Linked DNA regions of Homo sapiens: region 1 is linked to region 2. The links are contacts of gene promoters, found by promoter capture Hi-C in blood cells and fetal thymus (Javierre and others, 2016). All regions are on one chromosome and are shown on one strand. Each heading gives the region's core, a stretch centred on a gene start or on the middle of the fragment in contact. The rest is flanking DNA. Distances are from core to core; before and after follow the strand shown. Region 1 overlaps LINC00322 (long intergenic non-protein coding RNA 322). Region 2 holds the start of SIK1 (salt inducible kinase 1).

What was found. Contacts are between HindIII fragments. The CHiCAGO score rates a contact against its expected background, and 5 or more counts as called.
Region 1: a contact is called between a fragment that was not itself captured here and the fragment with the promoter of SIK1 in region 2, in 2 of 17 cell types (naive B cells and total B cells). The highest score is 6.9, in naive B cells.

The regions. Positions count from the first base shown.
Region 1 is chr21:43,317,036-43,324,909 of GRCh38, reverse strand. It overlaps LINC00322 (long intergenic non-protein coding RNA 322), which reads left to right. Exons shown (of 3, transcript NR_103713.2): 3 at 2,061-2,701. Among named protein-coding and RNA genes, the nearest start is that of LINC00322, 11 kb to the left of the region's middle. The HindIII fragment of the contact is 4,751 bases long and covers 618-5,368 here.
Region 2 is chr21:43,425,881-43,433,397 of GRCh38, reverse strand. It overlaps SIK1 (salt inducible kinase 1), which reads left to right and starts at 6,267. Exons shown (of 14, transcript NM_173354.5): 1 at 6,267-6,388; 2 at 7,206-7,375. The coding sequence starts at 7,220. It overlaps LOC124905029 (a long non-coding RNA gene), which reads right to left and starts at 3,814. Exons shown (of 3, transcript XR_007067891.1): 1 at 1-3,814. RefSeq lists a silencer at 2,375-2,669. The HindIII fragment of the contact is 3,848 bases long and covers 4,110-7,517 here.

The DNA of each region.
Region 1 (7,874 bases), core at 1,744-4,243, 110 kb after region 2:
TCCGCGGTGTCAGAGCCTCACCCCAACCAGAAGGCGCATCGGGGACGTGGTCATGCGGTGTCTCCCTGACCTGAGAGTGACTCGGGAGGCTGCAGTCAGACCCCGGCGGCCCGGCCTGCGGGGTGACAGTGCTCAGAGAGGGACCCTTCAGCTCCTCCCTGCCAGGGTGGGGGGGGCTCTCTTCTCTGGGAGCAGGAGGCCTGGGGGGCAGGGGTGGGGTCCCAGCAGCCTCTCCCCCAGCGGCATGGTGTATGGCTGCGGAAGCCCTGGGTCTGTTTCCTTGTCTGTGACATGGGGCTGATGGCAGTGCTTCCCCTGCTCAGGGAAGACAGAGGCACAGATGGGGAGAGGCGGCCAACAAGCCCAAGAGCACCAGAGCCACCAGGAGCTGCAGGAGGCAGGAGGGACACCCCTCAGCCTTCAGGGAGGGTGTGCCTCGATCTTGCTCTTCTGGTGTCCAGAGCTGGGAGAGAATACCTTTCTGTTGTTTTAAGCCACTCGTTCTGGGGCACTTTGCTAGGGAAGCCCAGGAAACTCGGTGAGCACGGAGCTGGAGCTGCTTGAATGACTCACAAGCAAGTACAAGAGGAGAGGACCCCAGGCATTCGGGGGAAGCTTTGAAAGACCCGCCTGCTCCCTCAGCAGGCAAAAGAGGTCTTAGGGAGGGGCTGAGGGGTGTCGGAACCAAGCTCGTGAACCTGGGGCTGAAACCGCAAGGCCCCAGCAAAGCCAGAGCCTGGGATGGGGAGCTGAGGGTGCAATCAGCTTGTCCCTGGGAAGGTGATGTAGGGATTCCCAGCCTCGCAACACATCCATCATCTGGGAGTTACCTAAACTATGTGGAAATGCAGATCTCCAGGCTCCCACAAGAGGTTTTGGGGCAGAGCCCAAATGGGTGCATTTAGCAGCTCCCGCCTTACTCGGATGCGGGGCAGACCCACTGCCCCTCCCAGTAGGTCAGCACGTCTGGGGTCACTGGGCCAGCACAATGCTCCCTTTTTCCCTGTGGCAAAGTGAATGTGGAGGCTGAGGCGGGTGCATGGCTGGCATCCACTGAGTGCCACCCTCCCAGCACAAGGTGGCGGATGCACAGCAGGTGGCCTGGCTCTGCCATGCAGGCACCTGGGGACATGGGCAGGCTGCAGCCGGGACCCGGGCACCTCGCAGGGACAGGCTGGGGACGCCTCCTCCACTCTCCCCAGCCCGTCCTCATAAAGCACCTGTGGGGCTCCTCCTAAGCCCAGGGAGACCCAGGCCCACATGGGCAGCATGTGGCTGGTGTGTCACTGCAGCCAGGAAAATAACCTGGGAAATGACTGAAAATGCAGCCAGGCTGCACTCCTGTGTGCCCGGCCACTTCTCAGAAGGAGGGAGGAGGTTCATCTCAGGCCGGCTCCCACGGGCAGCTGGAAGCCACCCAGTTCCACTGCTGACCTGCTGCCTGAATGACCGACATGTGGCCGTTCGGCTGCCAAGCTGGCTGGCTTCAAGTGCAAAGCTGGCTGAACAAAGCAGGCCATTACGAAGCAATACAGAAGGCATTTTCCCGCAAACAGGGCCAGCGGGCTGGCGCCGAAGGAGGCTGGCCATGTGCTTCAGGCAGCACATTCACTCTCAAGGTCCTGCTTAGTAGGCTGCAGCCCGGGATAGCATGTCTAAGACCTCCATGGCAGGGAGCAGATAGGGCTGAGTCAGGGTGGCTGAGGGGTCACGGTCTGGAGAGAACATAGACGCTCTGTACTGCCTTTGGGGCTCCACTCTCCTTGGCAGAAGGCTCCAAGAGCCCTTCCCACGCACAGGTCTCTCCCCTTTCCTCCACTAGCCCATCGCCAGCCATGCATTCATTCACTCGCTCATCAAACCTACAATGAGCATGTACTATGTGCCAGGCACTGTCCAAGGTGCTGGGGACACAGCTGAGAACCAGACACACTCCTGTCCCTCACTGGGACTCCTCTACCCCAGCCACATCTCCAGGGCTCCCCACAGCCTGCACCCACCACTTCGCTCCCTCCCCTCCCCGCCTCCCTGGCAGTCAGACTCGTACTTCTGTCCCACAGCTTTCCCAGCCTCCTGGCTGCCTCCCCATTTCCTCCCACACTGGTGATCCCCCGATGAAATCCTCCTGCCCTTCATCCTGTCTTGGCGTCTGCCTCGCGATGACCCTGGGCTCACAGTCTGGCCACTGCAGCTGAGTGTCGCACTGGCTCAGGTGTGGCAACACGGGGGTTGAAAGGCTCTGAACCAGGCACCAGGAGCCCTGCGCCCCAGGCCAGCCCTCCGCAAACCAGCTTTGTGTCCTCGGACAACTCCAGGCCCATCCTGGGTCTTGCTGTCTGGAGAGAGGAGGAAGCCGGCCACACTCTCCAAGAACATTCAGCCTCCGCACTGCATGGCCTCTGCTTGGTTTCTGGCTGGGCCCAGGGCTCTGCTTGCAGTGTGGAGCCGCAGTGGTGGGTCCCCATGCGAGCCCCCGCCACTGTCTGCTGTCATCACCGGCCCAGATGCCCTTGCCACACAGCACCATTTCCAACTGCGAAGGCCTCCGTGTGGCGCCTGTCGGGACAACACGGCCGGCACAGGCTGGGCTGGGGGAGAAAGGGTGCTGGGCAGCTCTGTGCCCTGCGACTTTGTGGGTCTGCTGGGCTGTCCTTGTCTTGAAAACATTGTATTTTTGACTCCTATAAAGTAGTGGAGATAAGATTGGCTCTGAAATGTATTATGATCCCTTGAGTAGAGCCAGGGGGCAGAGCCACCTCCCTGGTGGTTTCCATGGGCATCAATAAGAAACGCTGCCATTTAGTGGGGAAAACAAGGTATGTGGATAGGCTCATAGCCCATGGTTCGAAGCCCATGCCCCTCTCAAGAGGGAGCAGACCAGGGAGGGTGGCAGGAGCATCCAGCGAGGGTTAGGGTGCCCCACCGGCCTGAGCTCCTGCCTTGGAAGCACCCTGAAGACAGATCGTGGGGCCCTGTGGAGCTGGCCTGGGGTTGCCACCAAGGACTCGTTTTGAAAACGTCTCCAATCAAACAGCAAAGTTTTGGGGGTCCCTGAGCCTCAGCCAGGGTCAGTTGCCCGAGTCACACCTGCTGAGGCAAGCGTGCAGGTGCAGGCCCCACCCACAGGCACCCCCTTTTTGCCCACCCAGCTCCATCTCCCACCCCAAGGGGCGTTGCCCAGCAAGCGCCTCCCAGGGGGCACATCTGAGCTCCACCCAAGGCCCCCCCTTGGGCCCCAGAAGAGGAGGGCAGACCCAGAAGGGCCCCCAAAGAGAGGCCAGATGTGGTCAGGGGAGGGTCGGGAAGGAGGGACAGGCCTCCCACTGGGTGTTCCCCTGGCCTCATGGGCCCGAATCCTCTGAAGCCTCAAACCACACTGGAGCCACATGGCCAGTTCCAAGGGCAGTGCCTGGGATGGCTCTTGGGATGGCTCTCAGGACGGTGAGGCCTGGTGGCCTCCATCCTCTATGTGGAGAAACAGCTGAGAAGGACGCTCCTCTCTCAAGGCAGTGAAGGGGAGGAGGGGAGGTGCTGGGCAATCTGTTTCACCCGGCCTGGGCCCCAGGCTTGGGGGCCCTCAGTGACTCACTATGAAGGCATCAGAAGGGCCCCTGGGAGGGATTTGTGAATATGTCCCCAGGCCTTGGAGGAGAAAACACAAGGGTACCCTGAAGCCAACTCCTGGCCTCCACCAAGAAAAATGAGCTCAGAGAGCACAGCCAGCACAGTGCCAGGGCAGGGGCCAAAGGCCGGCTCAGCCTCTGGGAGGAAGGAGCTCAGGCGGTGGCCTCAGCTGAGACTGGGTGCTGGAAGCTCCAGGACCCAGGGGACCCCATCCTCAACAGAGGGGTCTCCAGAGTCAGAAACGCTAGGCAGCCTCTGCCACTCAGAGTGGCCTAGGGTTGCCAGGGCTGTGGAAGCGCTGACCCTGAGGGGTTCACGGGGACAGTGAGAACAGGGAATTGTCATGTGACCCAGGGCTGGGTGGAGGAAGTGCCTCTACCTGGCCATGGTGGCACAGGAGCCATTGGCGTGGGCAGAAACCCAGGGTGGGTAGTGGGCTGGGGTGCCTGGGCTCTCTTGGGGCCAGATGACCAGCTCACAACTGAAACTGATGGTGAAGCATTTCATCAGCCGGGGTGTATGAGTCAGCTCAGCCTACGTAACAAAGCACCACACTGGGGGGCTTGAACCTCAGAAATCCCTGACCTCACGGCCCTGGAGGCCAGAAGTCTGCAATGCAGGTGTGGTCAGGGCTGGCTCCTCCTGGGGCTGTGAGGGAGCCTCTGGTCCCCATCTCTGCCAGCTTCTGGCAGCCTGAGATGTTCCTGGAGATGGCCGTCTTCTCCCTGTATCTTCAGTTTGTCCTCCCTGGACATGCCCCTCTGTGTCAGAATCGCCCCTTTTGGTAAAGACGCCAGTCTTGTTGGGTCCAACCTGTGACCTCATCTTAACCTGATCTGCCAGGACTCTGTTTCCAGTGAAGGTCCCACTCACAGGTACTGGGGGTTGGACTTCAGCATCTTTTGTGGGGAATACCATTCAAACCATCACCTGGGGGAGGGGAAGCTGCAGGCCCCTGTGGGCAGGGAGAGTTAACCTTGCACCTGCAGGATGGGCCCCACCCTCCCAGCCTTGGCCTCCCCATGGCCATGTACAAGCATAAACTTGCATCTGGTTTTACGAGCTGGAAATTTAACATAGAATCCTTTCTGCCATTTCACTCTCTACATTAGGACCTGAAAGGACAAGAGCACTTTTTTTTTTCTGTTTTACACTGAGCTGATTCAAGTGGACACATTGCTGGGGTCAGCAGCAGCAGTGAAGTCCTTTCCCCAGCCTTGAGAACACACATGACTTTACATCCAGCCCAGCAGCCCCCACAAACCCCCAGGAACAGCCCAGGGAACCCTGTCCTTGGTTTCCTCTGGGGCAGAGTTTTCTGGAACCACACTGAGAAGACACTGAAAGCATTAGAGAGGCTTGTGCTCCCCGGATGTATTTTATTGTTTTAATATATAAATTGATTCCTTTAAAAAACAAGCCACAAATCTCATGGCGGGCCCTTTTACGTGCATGAGCTCTAATTACTTGATTTTTTGGAAGCGCCTGAAAAAATTATATTTCTAATTCCTCTAGGCCTGTCATGAAAGAGCCTTTTATAACTGCCGGGCTGTCCCTCCTGGGAATCAGACGCTGCGGTGCAGAGGAGGATGACGACAGGAACCGCTCTTCTCAGAAAAGGGCCTTGCAGCCCTGAGCGTTTCCAGCTCAAACAGAATGGATGCGTCCGCTAATGATGTCTGTCGCTATTTGCATCGTGGATGCATTTCCAGGGTTCGCAGGCCCTGGAGAAGGAGGAAAAGCTTCCCACCCTGTCATGCTCAGGATCATGTCGTCATCGTCCACAGCTGAGTCACATCGCCCGGAGCAGATGTGACTGGCCCCCACCCCCTCTGTGTGTACAGAGAGATGCTCTCAGAGGGTCGGGAAGCCAGAGCCTCTGAGCCCAGCTTGGAGCATGGCAAGCCACGCTGGCTGGAAACCCCTGGACACAGAGACTTGCTGAGGGTCCTGTCACCCTTCTCCCCATTCCTGTAACCTCCCGAGGCCGGGCATCTGTCCTTTATGGAATGGGCCTTTGCCAAGCGCTGAACTTGACTCTAGAATGTCACTGAGCGTGTCTGGCTGCGGGGAAACGCGCTCCCTCCCCCTGGGGTTTGTTAGAAAGAGTTCTGAAGCCTTGCAGAGGGTGTGGGTGGAAAGTCCTTCTGGTGGGGAAGCCAGGTGCAGAAAGCCTAAGCTGAGAGCGCTCAGGGGAGGCACCCAGCATCGGGTGCACGGTGGGTTACCTGGAGGTCAGGCAGCCACTGCTGGCGCTGCTTCCCCATCCCATGGTTTGGCTCGGTACAGCCCATCTTCAGCTTAGCCAGCGCATGCCCAGCTAACCCCCCTGGGACTTGCCCGGTGTCAGCCTAGACCCTATAGGAGCAAGAAGAAGAAAAGTCGTGACTCATGCACTTGGGGAGCTTATGGTGTGGGCTTTGCAGGGATGGACTCTGAGCAGCCAATGATCAAACAGGAGGGCAGTTTACATGTCAGTGTTTTACCCAGAGTCCTTGGGGCAATAAGGGCAGTGGGCAAAATTCTGCTAACTACCCCCAGCCCTTCCATCCTTCTTCCTGAATAACAAGAACCCCAGCTTTTCACTGGACACACTGCATTCAGATAAGAGACTGCATTCCTCACACTACATCAGGACTAAGTGAGGCATAGTCTATTGGCTGGAATGCAGAGGTGATGACAGGTACTCAGGCAGCCACGTTGGACCATGAGACGGCAGGATCGATATGAAGGACTGTGAAGAGGCATGAAGCAACGAAGGGACATGGGGAAAGTCTGAATCCCTACTCTTATCGGAGCACGTCATAATATGAACTCCTTAATTTTAGCTGGATACAATTCCCATTCCCCCTCGCAGCCAGCTGTGACCATGTGCCTAAATTTTGGTGCCCAAATTTTAAGCAGAAGTGTTGTGTGCAACCTCCGGAAAGCATCCTTAACAGGCAGGACCATGCCCTCTGCTGTGCACTGAACTGTGTCCCCTGCAAATTCACATTGGAGCCCAAACTTCCCATGTGGCATGATTTGGAGATGGGGCTTTTGGGAGATAATTAGATTTAGATGAGGTCATGAGGGGGCCCTTTTGATGAGATTAGCGCCCTTTCAGAAGAGGAAGAGGCACCAGGGCTCCCTCTCTCTGCCATCTGAGGATACAACAAGACAATGACCATCTGCAAGCCAATTCGAGAGCCCTCCCCAGAATACAACCTCGCCGGCCCAGATCTCAGACTTCCAGCCTCTAGAGCTGGGGAAAGAAATGCCTGCGGCTCGAGCCACCACCTACGGTGTGTTACAGCAGCTGGGGCAGACGACGTCCTTCCTTCATCCTCTCCTCTTTCCTGCTGGCTCAAGTGCCCAAGCAGCCACCTGGCTCCACGGAGAGCTGATGATAGAGCAGCATAAGGAACGACCTGATGTTCTGGCTGGGCCAGATCGCCCTCCACGTTTGTCTTTGATTTGCAGTACATTCAGGGACAGAACCTACATCTAAACCCTGAACATTCGGATGTCTTCTGCTTTGATTTCCCATGAAAGAACATCTGAGTAATTATTGTGTCTGAAACTTCTCACGCACAAGCTGGTATAGATTTCCCTGTTCTCATCTTCCCAAGTTAGGTGGGCGTTTCCTGAGGCCACCCTAACATATTATCACACACACAGCTTAACACAAGGGAAATTGGCTGGGTGCGGTGGCTCACGCCTGTAATCCCAGCGCATGGGGAGGCCAAAGCGGGCGGATGGCATGAGTCCAGGAGTTTGAGACCAGCCTGGACAAGATAGCAAGACCCCATCTCTACAAAAACTACACGTACACACAAATTAACCAGGCGTGGTGGTGTGTGCCTGTGGTCCCAGGAACTCAGGAGGCTGAAGTGGGAGGATCACTTTAACCTGGGAGGTAGAGGCTGCAGTGAGCGGTGATTGCACCATTGCACTCCAGCCTGGGCTACAGAGTGAGATCCTGCTTCAAAACAAAACAAAACCAACAACAGAAATTGATTCTCTCGCAGTTCTAGAGACCTGATATCCAAGATGCCAGCAGGGCTGTGCTCCCTCTGAAGGCTCCAGGGGAGGATGTTTCCTTGGTTTCACCAAGATTAGGCGAAACTGAGCACATTCAGAATGCGTGGCCGTAGACAATACTTCCTGGTCTCCTCCAGCTCCTGGTGGAGGAGACCAGGTTTCCCTGGCTTGTGGCTGCGCCCTCCGATCTCTGCCTCCATCATCATGGCCTTCTTTTCTGTGTCTGT
Region 2 (7,517 bases), core at 5,018-7,517:
ACAACAGCCAGGTCAAAATGAATGACACCCATTGCAGGCCACACTGCAGGGGCTGGGGCTGTCCTTAGGGCCCTGTGTCCTGCTCGAAGTCAGGGGCTTCCACGGATTGACTTGGCAACCCAGGGACTTGGCTCCCTACTCTCTTGTTTTTACTTTTTTTCTTTCTTTTTTTTTTTTTTTGAGACGGAGTCTCGCTCTGTTGCCCAGGCTGGAGTGCAGTGGGCAATCTGGGTTCACTGCAACCTCTGCCTCCCGGGTTCACTCCATTCTCCTGCCTCAGCCTCCCGAGTAGCTAGGACCACAGGCGCCCGCCACCACGCCCGGCTAATTTTTTGTATTTTTAGTGGAGATGGGGTTTCACCGTATGAGCCAGGATGGTCTCGATCTCCTGACCTCGTGATCCTTGGCCTCCCAAAGTGCTGGGATTACAGGTGTGAGCCACCGCGCCCTTGGTTCCCGACTCTCTGTAGCTCCCAGACCCTGCATGGCAGCCACACCCGTGGGTCCCAGGAGGTGTGTGGGGCCCTCTGCTTAAAGATCCCTCTCAGTGGCTCTGCCTGTGGCCTCCAGAGACCCCTCCTCCTCAGGCGGTGCTGGCCCACGGGCACCAGGCCGGGCATCCAGTCTCGACTCCGGTGGCTCTCAGACAGCCAGGCTGTCTTAAAACAAGGCTCCTGAAATGTGGAGAAATGGCTCATCGAGTGCCAAATGTCGGCATAGGGCCGGGGACCACGAGAGGCTGGGGATGGATGAGCCAGGTCAGGTGGGGCCACAGTCTCATGCTGAGCTGTGGTGTCTGTTTCCACGGGGCCTTGAATGGCATGAAAAGGGCCCCCGATGCTGCCGCGCCCCCGATGCCGCCGCGCCCCCGATGCCGCCGCACGGAGCTGTCCAGTCGGGATGCTGAACATTGCCACAGTGGAATTCTAGGCAGACAACTTCAGCTTACGGTTCTGCTTGCCATTTGGTGACCTGGCAAGACACTTCCTAGATAAGGCTGGAAAAGGCAGGACGCCTCATCCTGTTTTAATAAAAAGTGAATAAGAAAACGTCAGCTATGAAGAGCATTTCCGGTGCTTTTTGTTTTCATCTTTACATACTTACTTTCTTGATTTTCTATGGAACCTTTTCTATTAATTTTTATACTTCGAAGAAACCTGCTTTATAAGAGAAGGCCCGGCAGTGGAGGGAGCATTTCATCGTTTTCCCATAGATGCAGCTGAGATGGAGGGAGACCCATCCGGAAGCCGTGGAGAGAGCGTCTCCTCAGCCCGCCCTGAGACGGGGGTCCTCCTCTCTCCCCCATGGTCCGGGCTTGGCTTCTCTGGGCTGTGAGATGCACAAGTGAAACGCTTCAATCTCCAAGGCCAGAGACCTTCCACCCACAGGCCTCACGCTCCTTCCTGCCACCCGCTTCCCATCGCAGCTCCTTGCTCCTCAGCTTGGCTCCAACAGCCCCAAGTCCCTGCCTCCCTTTCCCTGTCATCCTCGCCTGGCCGTGTCAGGCCGTGAAGCCGGGACAGACCACACTGCTCTGTGCACACCCCGGGCAGGCAGGCGCTGGGCAGCAGGTTGCAGATGGATGTGGACGGCGCCAAGGACCCCCACTGGGTCTGTCTTCCCAATCGTGGCCTCTGCTCTTCTTCCCCTCTGCTGAGAGCCTCTGCTCAGCATTCAGAGAGGGAAGGTGTGGGTGGCTGCCTCCTGCCCCATGCCCCCCGCCGGGGCTCCACCTCTTCTCTCTCCTGGAGCAGTTGGTGTTCTCAGGGAAGGTCCTCGCTCAGTCCACGCCTGGCAAATCCCACGGAGAGGCCCGGAAGCAGTTCCCTCCATGGCCACTTTCCTGCCAGCATTCTTTTCTTACTCATCATCTTATGCTGTTACTGTCTCCGCAACTGGAACCAACGGTCCTCGAGAGAAGGTGTCTTGTGTCCCTCCTACTGTGCCCACAACCTTCACGCAGTGCCTGACACACAGCAGGGCCTCTCGAGCCTTTGTGGACATCTGGAGGATGACTCCGAACTCACCCTCGCGTTGCACCGTCTCACCTCTCTCTGGGGACCTGTCCCTTCCCACAGTGAACTTCGAAGCATGTCTGTCTGTCACCATGTTCTGGCACAGTCTGGCCATGCTCACCTGTGTCCACCCGCTGACTCATTGCAGCTGGCACACTTGTTGCAAATGGCAGAAACTCACATTATTTTGCATAAGTAAATAGTAACCAAAAAAAAAAAAGATGGTTTACCATGCTCTACACTAGCAGCCAGCATGTCACCTGGAAACACCGAGACCTGAGCTGACACTCAGACGTCTCCATCTCCCGGGAGCCACGCTCCGTGTGGCCCTGGCAGAGTGCCCAGGATAAAGAGCACGGCCAGCACCTGCTCCAGTCCTGGTCCCCAGTGTCTGCACAAAGCTGCAGCATCCCAGAGGCTTCTGCTCTGCCTCTGGGGACCTTTGCTCCGTTTGCGGATGCGGTTTCCTTCTTCCTACAGAGAGGCAGGTGGTTTACTCCAGCGCTGCCTGCTCAGCACAGGGTGACCTCCTGCCAGGCTGTCCATGGTGCTCTTCCTAAGTGAGCACTCCCCCCCGGGGGAACCCCTGGCTCTGTTTGGGGCCTGGCTGACTCTCGCTGGGGCTGGCCCCTTCCTGCACCCCCCTCCCCCGCCGTCCGACCTCAGCATATGGCTCAGGGACACAGACACCCAAAGGCCTCTTGGGTCCTCAGCCTTGATATCGGCCACAGCCCTGCTTAAATGTCAAGAAAACGCATTGGCCACATGAATAATTCCTCACTAACGGCAGCGACAGAAACCGGAACCAGAAACCCTAGAGGGCTGGAGCGGGGAGGGCCGACTGGCCCGTGAACAGGCACGTTTCTGCTGCTTTGCCGGCCTTCGTGGTCCATTTAAGCAGCCCGTGGAAGGCCTAGCCTGAAAGTGGGTGCTGTCTGAGATGGGGAGGGGCCCTGGGCCCGGTAGGATCCACACAACTGTGGCAGCCACGGAACCACAGGGAGCCAAGTGTAGGAGGTGAAGGAAGCAATGCCCTGGGGGCGGACGCTGGGACTGGGCAGTCTCTGGTTTGACCTGTTCGCGGGGGATTCTTGACTTAACCTGTGGACAACTGGGCCATTCCCTGAGGGTGGAGGGGGCTGGGGGCTTTTCTCCTACCTGCCCTCTTCCCAGGCCAGGGCCGTGGCTTCCTGACCTAGTGCACACATGTCTGTCTGTCAAGCTCTCCAGATACAATGGGGCAAAATGACCAACGTGGCCCCCGGGTCCCTGAGAAGGATGCCGCTGCAGTGGTTAATCTGATTTTCTGGCACCTAAAGCCGCTAGGCTGAAGCCTAAACAAACCAAAACAAAATTTAAAAAGTACAAAACCACCTGAAGCAAAGCCAGGAAGACAGGGAAGGGCCTTAGGCGTCGAAGATGGGAGGGTAGGGTCGGGAAGAGGAACTCGTCTGACTCCTGGCTGCACTGGGAGATTCCTTCCTCACAGAGGGCGGCACTGGGGCCAGCTGGGCACCCATCCCTTTGCAAAAATGCTGCCCCACGCTCCATTCTCTGTGTTTATCAATTGATTTTGAGAGTTTTGTGACATGCCAGTGGCCAGCGTTACAACTATGAATAATAAATGGACCCATTTCCTGTTGGGGTTTCCAGTCTTAAGGCCTAAAAAACAAGATGAACTCCAGAAACACGGCAATCATAAGACAAGCTGAAGAAAGTCCATGTGGAAAGGAAAACTGACTTGCCGTTTTCCACAAATCTGTAATAATATGCAAACCATAATAATAAAGTACCGTTCCTGCAGACTTTGGGAGCATTCCTTCCATTATGTTCAGTGAGGAGCTTCTCCAATCATTTGCTTGTACCATCCTTACACTCACACCATGTGTTTTATTTTTCCTCGTGTTAAAGGCACGGAAGACCAGAAAACAGAAAAGAAATCAAAGCTTCTGAGAGGAAATACAGCCTCGGGGGGTCAAGGACACAAACAACAACAAAAGACATTGGGTAACAGAGACCAGGTTGAAGCACAGACTTAGTTATGAGGGTGCCAGGGGTTCCCCCAGTGGGGAGACGGGACAGCCGTTCCAAGCTTGGCCTTTTCCTCTGTGCTTCCTGCCTTTCTCTGCAGAGCGAGCTCCTTGCCCACGGGCCCAGGGAAGGGAAAACAGGATGGCCATGGTTGGCACAGGGCTGTTCTGGGTTTTGGAAGCTCAGGGCTGGGTCAGGGTGAAAGGTCAAGTGCACCTGAGTTTGGGGACCTGTTCTGCGGAGGCAGTTTTGGCTGCAGTTTTTATTTGGTGCTGATGCAATGTTTCCAAACAGCCAGCCAGGTGTTTGCAAATACCTAAGACCTTTTGGAAGACTCTGGCTAGGGTGGGAGGGGTGGGGAAGCCTGCTTCCTGGATGCGGGGGGCAGTATTTCAAGTCACAGGCTGAGGGACTGAATGGTGAGTGTGATCAGGGGCCTGGTTTCTCCCCCACCCCGCCTTTTATCTTTGTTCTTTTTTGAGACAGGGCCTTGTTCTCTTGCTCAGGCTGGAGTGCAGTGGTGCAATGACAGCTCACTGCAGCCTCAACCTCCCAGGCTCACGCCATCCTCCCACCTCAGGCTCCCAAGTAGCCGGCCCCACAGGCGTGTGCCACCACACCTGGCTATTTTAAAAGTATTTTATAGAGGTGAGGTCTTGCTATGTTAACCAAGCCGGTCTCAAACTCCTGAGCTCAACTGATCCTCCTGCCTCAGCCTCCCAAAGCACTGGGATTACAGGCGGGAGACACGACGTCCAGCCTTGTTTTTGTTTAGTTCTCCTAGGAGCGGATTAACAGGGTGTTGGGACCTCCAAAAGGAAAAAAGGCAGTTGTACACTGTTCAGCTGAAAGGAACTAAAAATATTCCCCCGTATTCTTGGTATATAAACCTGGGACAAAGAAAAACACTCTGAACGATTAAGGAAAACTTTGGGACTCTTCATTTCCTTGAAAGCCTTTGAAAACCAACTGACTCCCAAACAACCCGTGTGTGTGTGTGTGTGTGTGTGTGTGTGTGTGTGTGTGTGGCGATTGGGAAATCTGTGGTCAGACCCTCGGGCGAATGAGGAGAAGCTCATCCTCGTTTCTCCGGGCCCTCCTCCCAGGCGTCCGTCCAGGCAGGAAAGCCTCCCGAGAAGGGTTCCAAGTTTTGTGCCAACTCCCCTGAATTCTCGTTCCCCCTTCTGTGAAGTAGTGTTATTTAACACAAGGAAAACTGACCCTAGGCTCGATCCAGAATCTAACTCCCAAATGGGTCCTCAGGCTTAAAAAATACCTTCGCCCACAGCCTCTGTCTCCCCTGAAGAAAACGTTTTCCGTTCGGATGAGGCATCGGCCACGGGCAAGCAAGTGGTCCCGCGCCCCCGTCCCCTACCCAGGCGGCCGGCCTGGCTCCGTCACCGCCCGCAGCGTCCGCCCGGGGCCCGCGCGGGAAGAGGGTCCCAGCCCCACATGCTGCGGGGGCAGCCCCGGGACGCGCAGACGCCAGCGCCGCTGAGGGCCGGGGCCGGGACCGGCCGCGCGGCGGGGGCTTCCAGAGCGGCCGGTCACGCTTCCTTAGGTTTCAAGTTTCTAACTTGCTGAACATTTCAGATTTTAACAGCAAAAGCGGCTGACGTCCCCGCGGGCAAGCGGCCTCTCGGGGTCTGCAGCGCCCCAGGGCATCCGCGCCGCCAGCCCCACGCGCGAGCCCGCGAGGCCCCCGGGCCCCCGCACGTCCCGAGGCTCTGAGTCTGGACGAACGCAGGCCGCGTGGAGGGGCCGGCGACCCCTGCCCGAGAGCCGTCCCCTCCTGGAGGGAGCGAGCACAAGGCGCCCGCGGGACCCGGCCCGAGTGCCCGAGCGTGGAGGGGCGGGCGCGCCCTCGGCGGTGGGGCCGCCCGCAGTGCCCCCAGCGCCCGGGAGGGGGCGCCCGGCGGAGCGCAGGCGGGCGGGCCTCGGGCGGCGGGCGCCCCTGACGTCACCGGCCCGCGGTCGCCAGGGCAACGGCCTCATCCCGCGCGCGTCAGAGCCGCCAGTCTCTTGGCAACCGCCCGATCTCCCGCTCTCCCTCCGCCCGGCGCTCGGCCGCGCGTCGCTCTGGCGTCAAAGCGACGTCAATGGGCGGCCCCCGCCCGGGCGGCGGGGGCGGGGCAGGGGGCGGGGACTACGGGGGGCGGGCCGGGGCGGGCCGGGGCGGGGCCGGGCGCCGCGTGCGGCGGAGCGCGGCGGCTCCGGGCTGACATGCGGCGCGGCCCCGGAGGCAGCAGCAGCGGCGGCGGCAGCCGGAGCAGTAGGCACCCGAGCAGCGCCAGCGGCCGAGCGGGCGGCTTCCTGGCCTGGGCGCTCCGGTGGCGGCGGAGGTGAGGCGGCGGCAGCGGCGGCAGCGGCGGCAGCGGCGGGCTCCGGGCGGGCGGAGGTGGCCGCCGTGGGGGCTCCGCGCGGGCGCCGGGCCGGGGCTCGGGGTTGCAGCCACCGCGCAGGGTCCCTGGCCTTGCGCGCGCGGGGTTCGCGGGCGGGGTTGGCGGCCTGGCCGCCCTCGGGCTCCCCTTTGTTGGGGGGCCGGGGTAGGAGTGAGTCCGCGGGGCTCAGGGGCTGGGGAGCCGGGGGTCAGGTTGGAGCCGACCGCGGGCGGAGATACCGGGTGTGGGGGGCGGGTCCGCGATCCCCGAGGTGCCTGGGATGTCGGGGGTGGGGACCGGACGGATCGCGGGCGGCGGGGGCAGGGTGTGGGAGCGGGGCAGGGGACGGTCCTGGGATCCGGATCGAGCCGACCTCGGGTGGCAGGGCCAGGTGTGGGAGCGGGTCCGCGCCCAGAGGTGCTAAAGGGGTCGAGGGTGGGGACGGAACCGACAGCGGGCGGCGGGAGGCGAGTGTGGAATCCCGGCTCAGGGGGTCCCGGGATCGGGACGGAACCGGACTCGGGCGGCAGGGGCCTCTATGAGAGCGGGTCCGTGCGCCCCGCGGGGCTCAAGAGGGTCGGGGGTCCGGGTGGAGCGGGCGGCGGGGGCGGGTCCACACCTCCCACGGGGCTGGAGGGGCCCGTGGATAGAGTGGGGGCGACAGGCGTGGGAGCAGGTCCCTGCGTCCCGTGGGGACTGGGGGCTCCGCGGGCACGGATGGAGCCGACCGCGGGCGGCGGGGGCGCTGGTGGGCTCTGAGCTCTGTGCGGCCCCGCAGGTGCGCGCGGAGCCATGGTTATCATGTCGGAGTTCAGCGCGGACCCCGCGGGCCAGGGTCAGGGCCAGCAGAAGCCCCTCCGGGTGGGTTTTTACGACATCGAGCGGACCCTGGGCAAAGGCAACTTCGCGGTGGTGAAGCTGGCGCGGCATCGAGTCACCAAAACGCAGGTGCGTGGGGGCGGTGGGACCCAGCCGGCGGGGCCTCCCCACTGGACCCGGGGCGACCCGACCTTTGGCGGGTGGACCCCATGCAGATTCACTGCTCCAGGCTTGATTGTCGTGGTGGGTAAATAGTAACCGTTTTTAGTTC